3 separate regions of the Homo sapiens genome follow, and regions 2 and 3 are each linked to region 1. The links are contacts of gene promoters, found by promoter capture Hi-C in blood cells and fetal thymus (Javierre and others, 2016). All regions are on one chromosome and are shown on one strand. Each heading gives the region's core, a stretch centred on a gene start or on the middle of the fragment in contact. The rest is flanking DNA. Distances are from core to core; before and after follow the strand shown.

Region 1 (3,388 bases), core at 139-2,638:
TAATGGGAATGAAACCCCCACCATTTTAATGATTTGTGAAATATACTGGATTTGGATTGTTTTCTTCTCTCACATATAAGCACAATCCAAGTCTGGATTCTGCTCATTTTATATCCTTTTTAGAAACAAGTAGAAACAGGGTAGGATCTCCCTATTTTTTAATCCAAAGTATACCTTGGTTTAAAAGGTTTAATGATGACAAAGCACACTCCTGGAATTTGCAGCTATTGCCACAAATTCGATCGGAATCAAGGGTTCCTATTTATCCCAAAGATGATTTTAAAAATAAACTTTCCAATCAATCCAATTTTTCCTTCTTCTTTTTTTTTTTTTTTATCACCTGGCTGTTCCAAACTCCAACAATGCTTCAATCATTATTAATAAAACAGTAGTAAGTCCCCATATTGTTGCAGGGTGGGGGGAGATTAGTGTGGCCAAGTCAGTCCCGGGAAAAGAGCAAACAAACGAGAAGATGGAGAGGGGGGGAGGCGGAGAGGGAGAGAGAAAAGGGGGAGGAGGAGAGAGAGAGACAGAGAGAGAGGAGAGGAAAGGAAAGAGAGGAGAGAGGAGAGCGCGCGAGATATTGAGAGAGAGAGAGAGAGAAGAGAGGAGAGGGGAGAGAGAGAGAGAGGAGAGAGAGAGAGACCCAGAGAGAGAGGAGAGAGAGAGAGACCCAGAGAGAGAGAGAGAGAGAGAGACCCAGAGAGAGAGAGAGAGACCGAGAGAGAGAGGAGAGAGGAGAGAGAGAGAGAGGAGAGAGAGAGAGAGAGGAGAGAGAGAGAGAGAGAGACGAGAGGGAGAGGGAGAGGGAGAGGGAGAGGGAGAGGGAGAGGGAGAGGGAGAGAGGAGAGGGAGAGGGAGAGGGAGAGGGGGAGAGAGAGAGAGAGAGAGAGAGAGAGAGAGAGAGAGAGAGAGAGAGAGAGAGAGAGAGAGAGAGACCGAGACCCCGATTCCTGAATCCTGAAGGTGATTGGTCGCGGGAGGAGGGGCAGGCGGGAGGAGCGGGTCCCGCGGCGGGGCTTGCAGGAATCGCTGGCTCCGGCTGCCACCTAGCGGACGGGAGCCGCTCCCGGGCGGCACACAGCCGAGTCCCTCCTCCCCTCCCCGCAGGCAGCCTGTGCCTTTTCTCCAAACGAAGACAGCACTTTGAAAATTCTTTCAATGGATTTTTTTTTCCTTGAAAGATCGTACTGGGGGAAAATGATACTTCTATTAGTTACATATTCTCCAATCGCATACTCGCACCCCCCTCGTTTTGAGATCGCTCCCCTAGGCAGGCTCAGGCGGGCGCGGAGCCGCGCGGAGTGACAAAGCCGCCGCTGCCGCCGCCGGGGGTGGGAGCCGCGCTCGCCCGCCCGCCCCTCGACTCGCGAGGGCGTAAAAGTTTGTCTCAGCTCGAGCATTCCTAGCGCCAACACGCCCTCAGGTAAAGGTGGAAGTAAATGGCCACGCTGTATTGACAGAGGTAGGGTTTGTTTTTTAATACTCGTTCTCACTTTAAGTCTCACCAGGGAGGGGTTTGGGAAGCACTGCGTGTTTGGGGGACGTTTTGCGCTTCCTGGTCTCTCCAGCCTACAAGTCGGGAGTCGGCGACCGCTTAGTGACGAGCGATGATTTTAAAGAGCAGAATAAAAGGTTTTCCCGTGCCTGCCCCACAGCCCCTCCAGCTCGAATAATGGAGAACTGTCAATGCACTCCGCGAGCGGTGGCCCATTGTACGCAGCTGATGGCGAGGAGGCGACTGGGGGTAGCAGGGGCTCCTTGCCCTCGTCCCTATGCCCAAATAAACGCGCAAACGCGCTCCCGTCTTCTGGTCAGTTAAAAGGTGAAACGAACACGATTAAAATAGACCAAAAGAAAAGAAAGAAAAGAAAACCTTTCTATGTACAGATTCTAAATCGTACTCCCCATACAGTCAGAGGCAGGGAGTCGAGGGCAGAGGCAGCAGGCGGAGAGAGGGAGATAGGGCGAGGGAAGGAGAACGCGGAGAGAGACGAAGGGAGTGGGAGACCAGCGACAGCGAGCGCCAGGGCACCGCAGGCACACTGGATGCCCAGTCCGCCGGCCCAGCCGCCCTCGGACCCTGGACCGTGCGTCGTGGGCACCAGAAACGAGACTCGGCCAAATCCTGCCTCACCAGGCAAGTAACATAATGGTTGTCGTTTCTCTTGAACTTGGGGTTGGTAACGGGCAGGGCCGGGAGGCAGTCTTGGCTCGCACGGCCTCCGCAGGCCGAGAGCAGAGTCTAGGCAGCCAGGGCGGGACGAGGAGAACTTTCTTCGGGGCCTGCTCGGGAGTTGCCCTCGCTCGGCCTCTGTCTCGCCGTAGCGCTAAGGCGAGGATCGCGGCCGCCGCGCCTCCTTGGAGGGGAGGATCGTGCCAGGCGAGCAGCAATCCACATTCAAAACAGGCTGCTCCCACCCCCACCCGCTATTCCCTCTCTCTCCTAGGCGGGAAACGGATGCCCGGGCGGAGGACGGGGACCCGCACGTTTAACACCGGCCCGGCTGTTCCTGCTGGTGCCGAGCGCGACCCGCGGTGGAGCCGGCTGCAGAGTCCGGCCCGGCTGGCCCTTGTGCCCGCGCCTTGCCTGGTTACGGCCTGAACCTGGCGAGCTTGGCTGCAGCCGCCCACCTGCGGACGCCGTTTGTAACGCCATCCCCTAATGTAACGCGATCGATGGCTGCCTGTCTGATGTGGGCGATAGTGTCAGCGGATTAAAAGGGACATCGAGCCGCTCTCCCGAGCAGACAACCTGCGGCGGCGGCGAGAGAGCACCGGGATTCGCAGCCTAGCAGCCGAGCCAGACTCCCTGCGCCGCTGCCAGCCGGCTGGGGGCGGGGAGGGGGTCGCCTCCCAGGGGTGGGGACAGAGGGGGTGTGTTGAAAGGAAGAGGCTCAATTAAAACCAACAAGAGCGCTTTCCTCCGTGCGGGGCAGGGGCGTGCGTTTGCGTCAGAGGGCGCGCGGGGGGCGGGGGCAGCCGATGCTGGGGACTGCACCCGGGGGCTGGGGGGTCTCGGAAGCGAGGAGGCCTTGCCTAGCTGGGCTGGCCCGGGGTCAGGCCCTGTAGGTGAGGGCCAAGGCGAGACGGGATGACAGCTGAGCCTGCCCGGGAGCAGAGGCGCCCACCCATCCTTACTGTGGGCTCTCCGTGCCCCCACAGAGCTTTCAAACTTGAAAGAGGCCCCTGGGACCCGGCGTGACCCTAGCGGTGGGGAGAAGTTGGGCCCGCGAGGCCTCAGGCGAAGCCGCGGGCTCCTCCGGAAGGAAGGAGGAGGGTGAAGTCCCCTGTCCTAGTCCCAGGGGTGGGAGTGGGAAGCTGTTGGTGGTGATGCCCGGAGCAGCGGAAGCCCGCGGCTTTTCGGAGGAGGGGAGCGGCTCGCACT
Region 2 (3,796 bases), core at 1,025-3,524, 1.0 Mb before region 1:
CTCTCTGCAGCCTCCAACTCCTGGGCTCTAGGCTATCTTCCCACCTCAGCCTCCCAAGTGGCTAGGACTAGGACATGCATCACCAAGCCTGGCTAATTTAATTTGGAAAAAAAAAAAAAAAAAAGAAAGAAAAAAAAATTTTGTAGAGACAGCATCTCGCCATGTTGCCCAGGCTGATCTAAGACTCTGGGGTCAAGTAATCACCTCCTGCCTTGGCCTCTCAAAGTGCTAGGATTACAGACCTGAGCCACTATGCCTGGCCAGTTTGGCATTTTCTTATAATGTTACACACATAATTGCCATCTCAAACAGTATAAATTCATTCATTCCGAGATATTTCCCAAGAGAACTGAAAACATGTCTGCATGAATACTTGTAACCAAATGTTCATAGCAGCTCAATTTATATTAGCAAAGACAAAAAAATCCCAAATATCTACCAATATGTGAATAAACAGACTGTAACATATCCATGGAGTAGACTACTACTCAGCAACAAAAAGGAATGAACTGCTGGTATACACAAAATGGATGAATCTTAATAATACTGTACTAGAGAAATGAAGCTATATCAAAGCAGTATTTAAGTATGATCCCATTCATAAGGACCTCTTAAAAAGTATACATCTAGTCTATAGTGATAAAAAGGAAATTAGTGGTTGCCTGGTGTTGGTGGTACAGAACTAAATGTTCAAGGACACAAGAGAACATTATAGGATAATGTACATGTAACAGATCTTGATTATAGTGAGGGTAACATGGGTGCATCAATTTGTCCAAACTCATCAAAATATACCCTTAATTTGTGTGCATGTTATTGATTATAAATTACATTTAACTAAGAGACAAAAACACTCCCCACCCTCTTGCCATAAAAAAAAAAGTAACAGCAGTCTTAGAATACAGTTTACCCAATAAAAAAGCTTTTAAAAATATACCAAGGACAAAATGAAATAAAATTATGATGAAAACAGTATGAATAATGAAGACAGCACTACATAAACCCAGAATGATGCTTTTGTGATAATACCAAAAGTCTAAAAGTGCTTCATAACTAGAAACAAAAAACTCCCAATTAGTTTTCCTTTTTTGTTTTGCTTGAGTTGGCCAAAAGGAATAACATGGAAAGTAAAATAGAGATATCCAGAATAATCTAAAACAATATTGTAAAGTAGATTTTGTTCTATTAAAGACACATAAGTCTAAACGAGCATAATGGCTTACCTAGGAGATTGGAGTAAATCACCATGGCTCATTTGGGCTAATAATTGCAAAAAAATACAGAAAGTACTCATGCAAATCAAAATTATTTTCTCATTAATTGCTTTAGCTTTTATGTAATCACATCCTACCTTATAAGAGAATCACTTCGCTTATCAGTTCTAACAAGGAGGACAACTTTCCATCTGTGGAAGGCTCCTGGAGCACCAGTGCGTTTCAGTTCTTCACGCCATCTTTTAGGTGCAGATTGCATTTGAGGTGAATAACGGGAATCTTTTTCAATTTTATATCCCCATTCATAAGTTGTTTCATCAAGCCATCTGCCACTTTTGGCACTATGAATTATATAGTCCTTGGTTAGTATCCACTTTCCTAGAAAGCAAATGAGCTGTCAGTCACAAAGGAATTTTGGTTCTGATAAATGATAAACAATAAAGATCAAATATAAAAGTCAACCTTTTTCAAGATAAGACTCTTAAGCTATGCTGCTAACATTATCTTTGAACTATGCATTTTGGGGAAATTTTCTGATAGTAAGAGGCTTACAATATCACTGAACATTGTATGTAATCTTTTCCATGACAAATAATTATAATTCTAAATATAATTCCATAGCTATAACTTAGTTATAATTACAGTTTCATTTAAATATAATTCTAAATTACAATTTTATAATTCTAAACATAAATCTAAAGCTTTAAAATCCAAAATAAAATGTGGTATTACTGGAATTATTATTACTATCATTATTCACTATTTTGGGTTAGATTTATATTCTTCCTCCTATGCTAACAGCTTTTCCAATATTGTTCACGGCATTATTACTCTGTAAAACAAATTTACTGAGTTAAAGAATTTTTCAGGTCATTTTATAACAACTCTTTTTTTTTTCTTAAGAGATGAGATCTCGCTACGTTGCCCAGGCTGGTCTTAAACTCCTTGGCACAAGTGATCCTTTTGCCTTGGCCTCCCAAAGTGCTAGGATTACAGGCATGAGCCTCCACACCCGACCAACAGTTTCTTTATCTGGGCATCAATGATCTTTTTGAACATTATGGACAATGTATGTTTTCATTTGTAAAGTTAAAAACGAATGCAAGTGTTTTCCTTGTAAGTTAATCCAAAAAGGATAAATTCACCCAAGTTACATATGCTTCTTTTTTTGCAATCAGTAGACTAATGATATGTCAGATCAATCACAGCAGAGAAAGCTATAAAATACAAAACGATAGAGGAGAAGACTAAGTCTTAATTTGGGTCTATAGTATTTAATATCTTAGAAAAATAAAATAGTATGACCATTGCTTCATAATATGGATAGAAGCAGCAGAGAGAACAAAAGCACTGCCTGTATCAAATGACAGATCAAAGAAAACTTGACTGAAAACAGCTGAGACTTTAACAAAAGCTTAAGATTTTGACATTTTGTGCCAGTCTTTTCATTAATGTATTTTTTTTTTGTCTTAAACAAAACACACTAAATCCTTGTTGAGGTAAATATTTCTGCCTATTTAATACATTTTTCATGTGTTACAAAATTTTACTTAGAAGAGTAATAAGCCAAAAAATATATTAAATATTTTCAAAAAATATCAGAAAAACACATTTAGGTTTGATATGTAAATATGCTATCTCTCCAGAGACTAAAATACTTTTGCTTTAACACGAAGATTGTTTTTAAAAGTTGGGGGAAGACAGTTAACTTACCTGCCGCACAAGCTGCTAAAAATTTTTCACTCTTACATAGGCGTTCAGCTATAAGATGTGTACAATTTTTGTATTTCTGGAGGGAAAAATCCACATCAAGAAATGTTACTAAAGTAAGACTCCCTTTATGACACATCCTTTTTATTGCTACAATATCAAGAAGGCATTTTATCATTCTTAGGCCAGTATTTGAATTGTAGTTATTTTTCAAATATATCTTGAACATTTTGATAAGTTTCTTACCTCACTCTTAATAAAAGTGCAATCTAGTTTTAAAAGTAATTTGACTAGCGCTTCTTTTTCTTCCATCTTAAATCCTGTCATCTGGATGATATGCTTTGGGGTACCATCTTCCATCTAACAAATACAAACATACAGAAGATAATGTGTGTTAAAGATATTATTCACAGGGTTGACATTATTTTTTCTTAACTATGAGTACTAAAAATAAACTATTAAACATACAATGAATTAAAGATGTTAGGCACAGCTGTTAAAACAATATTAAAATTACTTATATACGATAGAAACTAGTTTTAAAAGTTATCTTCTCAAAATGTGGCCTTAAGTGAGGGTTTTCTTTCTGATTTGAACATTGAAAGTCTGGATTAATACATTACTTGACACTAAAACACATTGATGAATAAATATACTTCTTCAGAAAATGATAGAATGTTATACAAATACTGGCATAATAATGTTATACAAGCTTCATTTAAAAAGTATTGTTGGGCTGGGTGCAGTGGCTCACGCCTGTAATCCCAGCACTTTGGGAGGCCGAGGCCGGCGGATCACGAGGTCAGGAAATCTAGACCAGCCTGGCCAACATGGTGAAACCCTGCCTCTACTAAAAATATAAAAATTAGCCA
Region 3 (3,423 bases), core at 858-3,357, 1.2 Mb before region 1:
TTCAAAAGATATTATTCTGCCAAATTTCTGGGGGCTAAAACTTCATAAATTAACTAGAAGATGAGGGTTATCCATAAAGCTTCTGAATGTTACCCATGAATTAAATTAGCAGAACATACTGTTTTAAGTATAATGTACCTGCAGTTTGCCACAAGTGCCACTAGGTGGTGAGCACGCATTATTCGTGGCTTGAGATTAGCTGTTTCGCTTCTGATGAATGGCATTTAGCTAGTTTTAAGAATTCAAATTCTGGCCGGGTGCGGTGGCTCACGCCTGCAATCCCAGCACTCTGGGAGGCCGAGGCAGGTGGATCGCCTGAGCTCAGGAGTTTGAGACCACCAAGGGCAACATGGTGAAACCCCGTCTCTACTAAAAATACAAAAAAATTAACCAAGTGTGGTGGCGCACACCTCTACTCCCAGCTATTTGGGAGGCTTGAAGCAGGAGAATCACTTGAGCCCCAGAGGCAAAGGTTGCAGTGAGCCAAGATCGCACCACGGGACTCCAGCTTGAGCTACAGAGTGAGATTCTGTCTCAAACAAAAGTAATTCTAATTGAATCAAATTAGATTTTCTTTTAGTAAAGAGTTGATAACTTATGTAACTGGTTATTGATAGAGGAAATGGAACTATTCCTCAGTAATGGTTATTGCAAATATTTAAGAACCTGTATAAATTGGAGTTATTGAAACAAAACTACAGGACTCCCTATTTTAATTTTTTCTATTCAGTACTCACTCAAGAAACATCCCTATTTAGTATTCAAACAGTGACAAGAATTTTTGGTAATAAATGACATCAAACTATTTGGGTGCTTAGAATTTGAAATTATGCTTTATTCTAATATCTAAGCTTACTGCTCTGGGTTAGAGCCTATCTCTTCTACTTAGATGTGTGCCCCAATATGTTAGATACTACCATTATCTGGCAGTGTTTCTGCTATCACCAGGAGGCCCAGCAAAAGCATATTACTTGCACTGTTTCCCTCCCTCCCTCCCTCCTCCTCTGAGATAAAAATATTCTACCTCAGCCTGGAAAACATAGTGAGATTCTTTCTCTACAAAAAAATTTAAAAATTAGCTGGATGTGGTGGTACATGCCTTGGTCCCAGGTACTCCAGAGGCTAAGGCAGGAGGTTCGCTTCAGCCCAGGAGGTCAGGGCTGTGGTGAGTCATGATCATTGCCACGGCACTGCAGCCTGAGTTAAAAGAGCAAGATCCTGTCTCCAAAGAAAAGAAAAATTTCACTTGACTATAAGCATCATGAAGTCAGGGTCTCCATGTCTGTTGGGATTAGCTCTCTATCCTATGCCTGGCATGGTACCAAGTACAGAGTAGACTCTCAATGAGTTAATGAACTTTTTCTGCAAGTTAAAAAATAATGCAGTGACCTCTCCATGTTATCTCAGTAAATCAAATACAACTACGTAGTGTATTTTTGCCAGTTAAGTAATCAGAATTTACCTCTATTACCTCCTGAAAATGACTCAGAAGGAGTTCACACAGAGATCTTCATGGACTCTGTGTTTCTTGCAGTCTCTCATTTAAAATATGCATGCAAGGGTGTGTGTGTATGTATGTGTGAAAGAGGCTGGCATTTTGGTATTAATCTTTCAAGGTTAATTCAAGATTGTGATTTTGGTTACACTAAGTTCTCAGGGTTAATCTATATTTACATTGCCTTTATTTATCTATATAAACATGGGAATGCATATCACAAAAGGATCCCCCCCAAAAAAATTTTTTTTTGAGACAGGGTCTTGCTCTGTCACCCAGGCTGGAGTGCAGTGGCACAATTTCGCCTCACTGCAGCCTCGACCTCCCAGGCTCAAGTGATTCCCCCACCTCAGCCTCCCGAGTGGTTGGGACCAGAGGCATGCACCCCAAGCCCAGCTAGTTTTTTTTCATACAGACAGGTTCTCACTATGTTGCCCAGGCTGGTCTCAAATTCCTGAGCTTAAGCAATCCTCCTGCCTCAGCCTCCCAAAGTGCTGGGATTACAGGCATGAGCCACTGCACCCAGAAGATCAAATATTTGAATTTGGGACTGTGCTACCATAGCAATATTGTAAGTGATAGTGGTGGTTGAGGTGGCCATTTATTGTGTATAATTGAATCTTTCAAATAACCAAGTATTACTAATCATCTTTTAGAGATAAAGAAGCTGAAGTTTGAATGGAATAAGTAAGGTACACATGGACATACATAATGGTTAGCAAGGTCCAAAACCAGGGGTAGTGGGTTGAAACCAAGGTCTGTCCAAACCCAAGGTGATTGGCTCTATAGCCTGTGTACTTTACCCAATTGCTGTACTGCCTTTCTCTACTACTGTGTTGACTTCCCTGCTTGATAACCCATCCAAAGGAATAAAATAGACACATTTATTTGAACATACTGTCGAGTTAGATACCTTAGATATAATGCACAGATATATTTTAAAGTCTCTTTTAGTGTAGCAATTTTGGTGGAAATTGGCACTTAAGAAAAATTATACTTAGTCTATCAGTAGTTTAGAAGTTATTCATGACCTTCCTATTACTGGAAAATACTCAACTGGTTTGGCTATTTATATAGAGTGAAACTGTTCTCTTATGTATATTATGTACTCTATCCTGTAAATCAAAATGAATATCACTTAATCTGAAACATAATGTAGGCCCAACACAGTGGCTCATGCCTATAATCCCAGCGCTTTAGGAGGCTGAGATAAGGAGATCTCTTGAGCCTGGAAGTTCAAGACCAGCCTGGGCATCATGGAAAGACCCTGTCTCTATTTAAAAAAAAAATTAACCAGGCATGGCGGTGTACGCCTGTAGTCTCAGCTACTTGAGAGGCTGAGATGGGAGGATTGCTTGAGCCAGGAGGTTGAAACTATTTTGAGACCCTGTCTCAAAAACAAAAACCAAAAATGTAGACAAATAATGTGGTTAAAAGTGTAAAAAGTGACACTATGGAGCCCCCACAGCAACTAGTCTGGGTCTCCAAGTAGTCTTGAAAATACATGGAAAAGAGAAGGCATGTCTGTGACACGGCCTGGCAAGGAAATGGGTAACTCCGTGTCCTCCTGGTGGGAGTGGAAACTGTACAATCTCTTTTGGAAGGCGATTTGGCAGTAAGTACCAAAATTACAAAAACACAAATCCTTTGGCCAAACAATTCCACTTCTTGTAGTAGAAGTTTATACTACAGATACACTCACACAGGTCAATTATCACATAGACAAGGTGTTCTTTGCTACTACTTTTTTTGTGGTAGCAAAAAACTGATAAAGAACCTAAACATCTATTAAGGGAAAACGGATTAAATAAATAATGGTACATCAATACCATAGGTCATGATGAAGCTGGAAGAATGAGGAAGCTTTTCAACACTGATATGGAACAATCTCTAAGAAACATGGTTAAATAAGAAAAAAAAGCATGGAA

What was found. The method cuts DNA at HindIII sites, captures the fragments that hold promoters and counts their contacts. A CHiCAGO score of 5 or more calls a contact.
Region 2: a contact is called between a fragment that was not itself captured here and the fragment with the promoter of NR2F1-AS1 in region 1, in 1 of 17 cell types (total B cells). The highest score is 6.8, in total B cells.
Region 3: a fragment that was not itself captured here is called in contact with the fragment with the promoter of NR2F1-AS1 in region 1 in 10 of 17 cell types (total B cells, total CD4 T cells, fetal thymus and 7 more); the score reaches 10.6 in total B cells.

The regions. Positions count from the first base shown.
Region 1 is chr5:93,579,219-93,582,606 of GRCh38, reverse strand. NR2F1-AS1 (NR2F1 regulatory antisense RNA 1) reads left to right here and starts at 1,388. Exons shown (of 8, transcript NR_186187.1): 1 at 1,388-1,465. RefSeq lists a silencer at 943-992 and an enhancer at 1,113-1,212. The HindIII fragment of the contact is 7,751 bases long and covers 1-3,388 here.
Region 2 is chr5:94,628,299-94,632,094 of GRCh38, reverse strand. SLF1 (SMC5/6 complex localization factor 1) reads right to left here. Exons shown (of 21, transcript NM_032290.4): 2 at 3,171-3,284; 3 at 2,928-3,003; 4 at 1,352-1,592. The coding sequence starts at 3,284. Among named protein-coding and RNA genes, the nearest start is that of SLF1, 12 kb to the right of the region's middle. The HindIII fragment of the contact is 713 bases long and covers 1,918-2,630 here.
Region 3 is chr5:94,734,807-94,738,229 of GRCh38, reverse strand. The region is part of intron 19 of MCTP1 (multiple C2 and transmembrane domain containing 1); the gene reads left to right. Among named protein-coding and RNA genes, the nearest start is that of SLF1, 120 kb to the right of the region's middle. The HindIII fragment of the contact is 2,507 bases long and covers 854-3,360 here.